Linked DNA regions of Homo sapiens: region 1 is linked to region 2. The links are contacts of gene promoters, found by promoter capture Hi-C in human tissues and cell types (Jung and others, 2019). All regions are on one chromosome and are shown on one strand. Each heading gives the region's core, a stretch centred on a gene start or on the middle of the fragment in contact. The rest is flanking DNA. Distances are from core to core; before and after follow the strand shown. Region 1 has its middle 160 kb from the start of ASCL4. Region 2 holds the start of FICD (FIC domain protein adenylyltransferase).

The links. The method cuts DNA at HindIII sites, captures the fragments that hold promoters and counts their contacts. A contact is called where the count stands out against the background at its distance.
Region 1: a fragment that was not itself captured here is called in contact with the fragment with the promoter of FICD in region 2 in 1 of the 25 tissues and cell types used here (lymphoblastoid cells).

The regions. Positions count from the first base shown.
Region 1 is chr12:107,931,493-107,936,106 of GRCh38, forward strand. No RefSeq gene overlaps it. Among named protein-coding and RNA genes, the nearest start is that of ASCL4, 160 kb to the left of the region's middle. The HindIII fragment of the contact is 5,919 bases long and covers 224-4,614 here.
Region 2 is chr12:108,513,445-108,517,576 of GRCh38, forward strand. It overlaps FICD (FIC domain protein adenylyltransferase), which reads left to right and starts at 1,833. Exons shown (of 3, transcript NM_007076.3): 1 at 1,833-1,917; 2 at 3,471-3,829. The coding sequence starts at 3,529. RefSeq lists enhancers at 1,305-1,364, 3,267-3,767, 3,456-3,555, 3,768-4,132. The HindIII fragment of the contact is 17,239 bases long and covers 1-4,132 here.

The sequences.
Region 1 (4,614 bases), core at 1,933-4,432, 580 kb before region 2:
GTGACAGGACTATCGTGAGGCTTTAGAAGGAGATAATGCATGCAAACTGGTCAGTGAATATGAGCTATTTCTGTGTTGTCATCAGGTCATTATTACCATTATTAATAACAGAAATGGTTCAAGGCCAGTTCTTACACTTAATTCAATGGTCGAAGGAAGCTGCAGGACTTTGATCTGTCAGACAAAGATGATGGTTTAAAATTATGTGTTATATACTTTTGCAGGTAGCTCTTGGCCATTTTAATAGTTCCTTTCCACATAGGCATTCGACAGCCTTGCCAATGGGTTTCCTGGGACAATAATTAGATTTAGGCCCCTGGTCCAGTCAATAGATTCTCATCTCGGGATGACCAAGCTGATCATCACCAGTAATTTACAGCTCGAGTTGTTCTGAAATCAATATGAATTTGCTTTTCATCGAGAGGGCTGTAAAACATGGGTGACAGGCAGCACCCAAAAGCAGTTGACATGGGAGTGGAGAGCTAGCAGAGCCTGGAGAGAGGCCAGACAATTTAGAGGGAGATAAAGCAGAGGGTAGAGGAGGCTGACCTCTGTCCAGTGGGCCGTGGTCACAGCCGGCCAGAGTTCCCACTGGGACCTGCTCAGGACAGTCTTGATGAGAAAGTAGATTTGATTGACAGTGAGGTGTGGTAGAAAGGGAATAAGTTTTGGAGTCAGATAGAACTGGATTTCTATTTCAGCTGTACAATTTTCTACTCTAGGGAGTTGGTCTCAATTCTTCACGACTCGATTTTTCTAATCTGCAAGATGAGCAGATAACCGAACTTGTTGCACAGATGAAGGTGAAATGAAACTGTGTTTGCAAAGTGCTTATTTTGCTGCATGTGAGGCTGTCAAATGCATTTGTTAAGAGGAAAGGACTGCAGAGTAGGGTGGACCTGGGGGCAAATCCTGCCTCTTACCTACTAGCTGAGTAAAACTTGGGTAAGTCATTCCACCATTTTGAGCTTCAGTTTCTTTATATTGGAATAGTAATAGGAACGTCTGTCCAGGGTGGTTGTTATAATTAAATTAGATTAGATGATGCATATGAAGTTATATTAGCACACTGCGTGTAACATGATGTGAATTCAGCAAGAAGAGGGCATCATTTTTGTCAATCTGATTCTCATCCATCCCAAACAGGGCACAGAGGAAGCTCTCTGTTAACATCGGCTCAATTGCATGATAAATTAATGTTTTTAACACCCTTAAATTGGGTAATTTGAGGAGAGTTTAATACAAAAGTTAATGACACCAAAACATATTTAAATAATAAAACAACCATTAAAATTATACATGCATGATCTATTTACAAATATGTGGATGGGGCTCTGGAAAAACAAGATGAATGCTGAATGCCAGGAATACACCAGTGGGGAGCCATGGCCACTGTGGAGTCAATAAGAGTATTGTTCCAGCACTTTCTTTTCGAACCATTGCAATACCTCCCAGTAGAATAGGAAGAATGAACCTGCCCATCCCATTTGTTGTGAGCTTGACCATATGACTTGCCTGGGTCAATAGAATACAAAGTAGGAAGTGATTGGAGCAGAGGCTAGAAATATGCTTGCATGGCTTGGCTCGCCCTCTTGTGCTTCTATCATTTGCCATGAGAAGAACATGCTCTTGGTATCTGATGGCCTTGGAATAAGTAGACCCATGGAGCAGATCTGAGCCCAGCTGGCAGCCTGACCAAGATCTGCTGAACCCAATAGCACCAAAGACCTCCTACAAATCCTCAAGCAAAGAAATAAATGCTTGCTCCTGTAGCCACTGAGGTTTTGAGGTTGTAATGCAGTAAAAACTAACTCCTGCCCCCAGATTATAATGGGTGCAGGGAGATGAAGTTACTGGATTGGGTTGCCTCAGAGGAGCTGTGGCCTTCAAGCGGGGAAGTCAACAGCTCATCCACACTCCCTTCCCCTCCTTCTGTCTCCTCTTGGTGCTTCCCATTGGCTGAACTCAACTAGAAGTGGAGAGGAAGGGAGTCAATTAGAGAACCACTGAAGACCAGCTCCCTGGGGCACAGCACATGGTAGGGAAGGATGGAGAGTGGATGTGGAAGGGCAAACGGGAATTATCTTGTATTAGTCCATTCTTGCATTGCTGTAAAGAAATACCTGATACTGGGTAATTTATAAAAAAAATTATCATTTAATTGGCTCACAGTTACATAGGCTGTACAGGAATCATGGTGGCATCTGCTTCTGGGGCAGCTCCAGGAAATAATCATGGTGGAAGGTGAAGGGGAAGCAGGCATGTCTTACATTGCCAAAGCAGGAGCAAGAGGGAGAGTGGGGAGGTACCACACACTTTTAAACAACCAGATCTCATGAGAACTCACTCACTCACTCACTATCAGGAGAATAGCATTGAGCAGATAGTGCTAACTCATTCATGAGAACTCTGCCCTCATGATCCAGTCACCTCTCATTAGGTCCCACCTCCAACACTGGGTATTACAATTTGACATGAGATTTGGGTGGGGACACAGATCCAAATCATATCATATCCAGTGCAATTAAGGGGGAAGGAGGGTTATGTTGGACTCACATATTAACAAATAACTGTTCTAAGACCTTTGCCCAGGGGCTCCATCTATGGCCCTTTGGGCATCTTCTTCCCAACTCTTTCTTGGCCTCCTGGATTTCCCTTGTTCTGCGTGGTCACCAGGAACATTCTTTGGGATGTGAAGCTCAGTGAAGTTAGCCAAGAGGGCTTCCTTGAAGAACCCAATTATTTCAGAATTTTTGCCCTTCTTAATCCATCAGCCACATTTTGGAAGTGTTTCCAAAATTGTCATGGCTGAGAGAGAGATTCGGGGAATATTTTCTTCTGTCTGTTCCCGTTACTTTTTCCTCCTGTTGGCTCCCAACATCTTTAGCGAAACCATATGTTCTAGGGTATCATTCACAGGAGTCCCAGCTCCATCCTGTGCACTCCAATTTTTTTGCTAGTCAAAAAAATTTGACTTTGACAGGAACACTTTAGCACAAAAGTGCAGAGAAAGAGTTTTGAAATCAGATCTAAGTTATAAAGGTCAACTTATCTTCTTAGCAGCTGTGTGACCTTGAACAGAGGACCTGACCTTATTCCTGAGCCAGCAGAGATCATTTTAGCACCAGATCCTAGAGCAACTTTTGAGAATTAAATGGGATATCCATGAATGCCCTTAGCATAGTACTTTGTTAATGCTTAATAAATTCATTACTATACACTTCCTAAGTGAGGTCAGGGGTAAGACTGACTCTAGAATGGGGTGGCACCTAATGCTGTAGCTGATGCCACAGCACTCAGCCACCCACCCCTGGTATTTGGCAGGCTATGCACAGTTCTTCTGTCAGTGGAATTCCATTAGATCTTGGAAAAACAAAATTCTTCTTTCCAGGCAGGTAGAAACTGAGGCATCTCTCAGCCTTCCAGGGCTCCGGGCTGTACGGGGAAGGAGATTTCTCTTTGGATCACCCTGCTGGTGGTCCCTCTTCTGGTGCCATCCACCAATTAAGCAGCCATTCATTTCACTCCATTCTGGAGAAACAAGAGTTTGCCAAACCCTGTAATATCCTGGGATTTGTGAATTATTAAATCTAAATATAGATTTATATGTCTCAATTCAATGGTGAATTTGGGTCAGCCTAACTCTTGTAGATAAGTGATATGTACAATATACGATGATTACAGAAGAAAAGTAGAGATGATTTCAGGAAGCTATTCAAATGCGAGAGAAGCTATTATCTGTTTCCACTGTCACCTACCTCATGCCCAACCCTATTCACCACCAATCTAGCTGCTCATTCATCCCTCCCCCCAACCACCTTCCTCGTTTCTCACCTACTACACATCCCATCCTCCATCCATCCATTCTTCCATCTACCTCATTCCCCTTCAAGCCCATATACCCACCTATCCATCCATTTACCCACCCACCTATCAACTATGAAACCTTTATTCCATTCACTCCTCCACCTGCTCCATCTGCCATCTTCCCATTCACTACTCACCACCCAACCTCACAGCCACCCATGCATCCATTGCACATTCATCTATCCATTCCCTCACTACTCACCTACCCAATCTATCACCCCATGTCATCCATCTATCCACTAACCACCCATCCTAGCCCCAATCCTATCCATTCACCATCCACCAACCATTTCCTACACAGGCACCCACCCTATTCATCCATCCATCCAAACATTCAGCATGCACCCAGTTCATCCCTCCATTTAGCAAATATTTATTAATTACCCATATGTGCCAGGGATTATGCTATGGACTTGGCACACACATGCCTAAGAAATGACTTTTTTCCCAAGAACTTCTATACCCAGTGTGAATGAGATATACTCTGAAACAAAAAGACAAAATAGCCATTAAGTTTTAATAAGACATGACAAACACGAGGCAGCATCTTGCAGTGATTACGTGTGCATGCTTTGAAGCCAGACCTATTTGACTTTGATTTGGGCTTTGCCATTTGATAGATTGATTTCCTCATATCAATCACAGCACTTTGTTAAACCTGTTTCCCCACCTGCTAAACAGGAATAATAATTGCATTTACTTCAGAAGATCATGGTGAACCCTAAACAAGTTAGTGTTAAGTAAGTT
Region 2 (4,132 bases), core at 583-3,082:
AGATAGATAGATAGATAGTTTGCTCTGTGCCAGATGTATAGAATCTCATTTCACCCTCACATAAAACCTTGTGAAGTGGTAATATCATCACACTGTGCACAGTTTACAGAAAAGCCTAGACAGATGATCAACAAGATCAAGTCACTTGCTGAATGTGATTCAGTTTGCAAGGGGCAGAACTGGGATTTGAACCCAGGTCTGTGTGACTCCCAACAGTGACACCCCACAACCACCACCTAGCCCTGCCTCCAAGAGCAATACACGTCACAGAGGAGGTCAGATCTTGAAGCATCAAGCCTTCTGCAAATCCTGAACTGGATGCCAAAAGCAAGGTAGGCTGTTTGTCCCCATTTTACAAGTGGGGAAAGTGAGGCTAGGAGTAACGTGCCCAAGGTGACACGGAGAGTAAATGGCAAAGTCTGAATTTGAGCTCAGGTCTCTTTGACTCCCCAGAATCTGAACTGCTAACTTCTAAATGCTTAGCGTTTCTGGGGCACCTCCCTAGATGTTTAATTTCAGTATTTGTGGATTAAGATGGAGGTTTCCATTCTCTGCTTCAAGGAAAAAATTTCTCTCTGGGAAGCCAAAAGAACTAGCCAGGTCCTTCTGGAGAGGATACAAATTAAAAAGTCAGGGAGAACCGAGGGGGTGGCTTGCGCCTGTAATCTTAGCGCTTTGGGAAGCCGAGATGGAGGGAGAGCTTAAGGTCAAGAGTTCGAGACCAGCCCGGGCGACATAGTGAGACCCGGTCTCTAAAGAAAATAAAAAATCAGAAATAGGTCGGGCGCGATGGCTCACGCCTGTAATCCCAGCACTTTGGGAGGCCGAGGCAGGCGAATCTTCTGAGGTCAGGAGTTCGAGACCAGCCTGGCCAACGTGGTGAAACCCCATCTCTACTAAAAATACACAAATTAGGCGGGCGTGGTGATGCGCGCCTGTAATCCCAGCTACTCGGGAGGCTGAGGCAGGAGAATCGCTTCAACCTGGGAGGCGGAGGTTGCAGTGGGCCAAGATCGTGCCACTTCCCTCCAGCCTGGGCAACAGAGTGCGATTCCGTCTCAAAAAAAAAGAAAGAAAGCAAGACAGAGAGAGAGAAAAAAAAAGAAAGAAAGAAAGAAAAGAAAAGAAAAGAAAATTCGCCGGGCATGGTGGCATGCACCTGTAGTCCCAGCTACTCGGGAGGCTGAGATGGGAGGATTGCTTGAGCCCAGGAGGTGGAGGCTGCAGTGAGCTGCAATTGCTCCACCGCACTCCAGCCTGGGCGACACAACGAGACCCTGTATTTTATAAGAAAAAAAAAAGTTGTTTAAGTCAGGGAGGAAAAGACACAGAGAGGAAAAGAGTAAAGAAGAAGAAGGCGGCAAACTCAGCAGCATGGGGTGGAGGCTAAGAACAGGGGCTGCGCAGTCAAGCAGGCTAACCGGGTGAAGGGGTGAAAAGCATCAGCATCTTCATTTCACAACCGGGAAAAATGAGGCACACGACAGCGGCTCCGGGACGAAGAGACCCGAGGAAAAGACCGCCGTGGAACTTCCAGTTTCCGGGCCCGCCACCTAGTGTGCCCCAAATCCGCACGCCCATCGGGTTTCCAGCACCTGCTCCTCCTGCCTGTGGCCTAGGCCCCGCCCCTCCCGCTGCTTATTGGCTGCTACGTGAACGAGACAAACGCAAGCAACAACCAATGGGAGTGGCCCACGGCGCGTCTTTCCCGGGGAAGCCGACGCGGACGCGGGAACCCGGAAATGCGAGGGAAGGACAAGTGGGGAAAGCCAATCCGCCGCGACGAGGGCTGCGGGCGGTTCAATGGCAAGTCGCCGGGGGCGGGGCCAGAGGCCGGCGGAGAAGGAGGACCCGGGAGCCGGCGGCCCGGAGCTGGGAGCGCGGGGAAGGCGGTTGGGGTTCTGACAGCTGCGCGCGGTGAGAAGGGGAAAAGCCCTAGGGGCTCGAGAGGATGAAGCCGGGAAGGGTGCGACGGGGCCGCGAGCCCTGGGCGGGGTTCGGGAAGGGAGGCTCTGCAGTCTTGGAGGGGACTCAGACCGGTCCCCTCCCCTCTCCGGGCCTCAGTTCTCCCTTTCTAGGGAAGTGTGGGGGAGAGATTCGCGCCTCCCAGAACGCACTCCTTCCCTGCACACACCCCTGGCACCGGCGAACTGCCCCCTTTCCTGTACCGCCCCGCCCAGGAGCCTGTCCCCTCGGGAAGCCCGCCCAGACCCCTGGACCCGCGCAGCACTCCAGGCGCACCCCTATTAAAGCGCACCCCAAGCCATTTCACATGTTCTGTGGCAATGGGCCAGGATCCCCATGAGACTCAGAACCCCGTGATCCATCAGTCATTCCCGGGTCAGGACCAGCCCAGAGCAGGTGCACAGGCCCTGCTTAGTAATAAGGTAGAAATCGAGACCTGGGGACCGGGTTCAGAGGCCCTGGGGTTTCCTTCCGGATGCCTCTGTTTACCTCCTGTGGGCCTTCTGGAATTTAACTTATGCTCTCTGTGTCTTGGTTTCCCTTGTCTGTAAAATGGAGCTAGCGGTAGCTCTTCCTTCATAGGGTGGCATGAGGGTGAAACGAGGCAATGCGTGGCCAGTACACTGCTCAGCACCTAGGACACCATAGTTGCTTAATAAGTGCTTATTGTTAGCATAGTGTTTGCATGCCTGGCCCCACCTCCACTCCCACTGCCAGCCCCAAGCACATACAAGCCATGTTGTCACTGAGGCCAAGCACTGTGGCCCACAGCCTGAGTTCCTTTCGAGATGCTCGAACTGCTCATCTTCTTGATGGGGTCCCTTCTGGACAGGCCAGAAATGGAAGGCCAGAGAGGGGAAGGGCACTGTGGGAGCTGTGGCTGAATATCAGGGTGAGGGCAATAAATGAGGCCACCCAACAATTGTGCTTATCAAAGATTGGGCGTCAGAACTGCTGTGGCTGATCTGCCTGGGTGTCTGTCAGTCATTTATGTCCCAAATGTTTGACATATGTCCACAAATCCAGTGTTTGTGGTCAGAAGCCACAGGGATATATGGGAAGGGGGGACACTTTAGAGCCGTGGGGTTCCTGAGTTCAAGTCCTAAGGCTGTCACTTGCTCCCGGCGAGACTTTCGGCAAGGGACTTCACCTCTCTGAACCTCAGTTCCCTCACCTGGAGAAGGGTGAAAACATCAGCTCAAGTCGTTGAAGATTGCAGGAGGTGACCCATGTGAGGCATTTGGTGCTTAGCACACGGCCTGGATTATGGCAAGTGCTCATTAATTGTTGGACCACAGCAGTGTTTTCACATTCATACTGCCCAGGAGGTGGCACCAGTCCTTCTAGGCTGGCCCCTCCTCTAGTGAGATCCAGTCCTTGACTTGCCCCCACCCCATCTCTCTAGTGAGCTAAAAGAGCAGAAGTCTCCAAACCCATCTTCCCAGCTGAAGTCACACTATGTCCTGAACGTGTCTGTTTCTCCTGCGACTCTTGGCTCCTTGCAGATCCTGCTCTCTCTCAGCCGCCTGTGGACATGCGCAAAGGGCCCTCTCCTGAGTCCAGATGATGCTCATACCAATGGCTTCAGTGATGGCGGTGACTGAACCGAAATGGGTCTCGGTCTGGAGCCGCTTCCTCTGGGTGACGCTGCTGAGCATGGTGCTGGGGTCCCTGCTGGCCCTGCTGCTGCCGCTGGGGGCTGTGGAGGAGCAGTGCTTGGCTGTGCTCAAAGGCCTCTACCTGCTCAGGAGCAAACCGGACAGGGCGCAGCATGCCGCCACCAAGTGCACCAGCCCGTCCACGGAGCTCAGCATCACCTCCAGGGGCGCGACGCTGCTGGTGGCCAAGACCAAGGCCTCTCCAGGTAAGACAGACTGGCCGTCTTCCTCAATGCTTGTTAACTGGATAGACAGACATAGAATGTGTCATGTCCTGTATGTGGGGCATCGGGGTATTGTGAACAAGTCAGCCCTGAGCTCCTAGTATAGACAAGGTGATGTGACTGAGACAGTGTCACAAGTGTGGTGATGGGGAAGCATAAAGGGCTGTAGGAGCATACCAGGAAGGCTCCCTGGAGGAAGTGACACCTGAGCTGGGACCCAGTTGTTAAGTAGGAGTCATCCAGGGTGAAGGGCATCCAAGGAAAAGGACTCCAGGCAGAGACCAG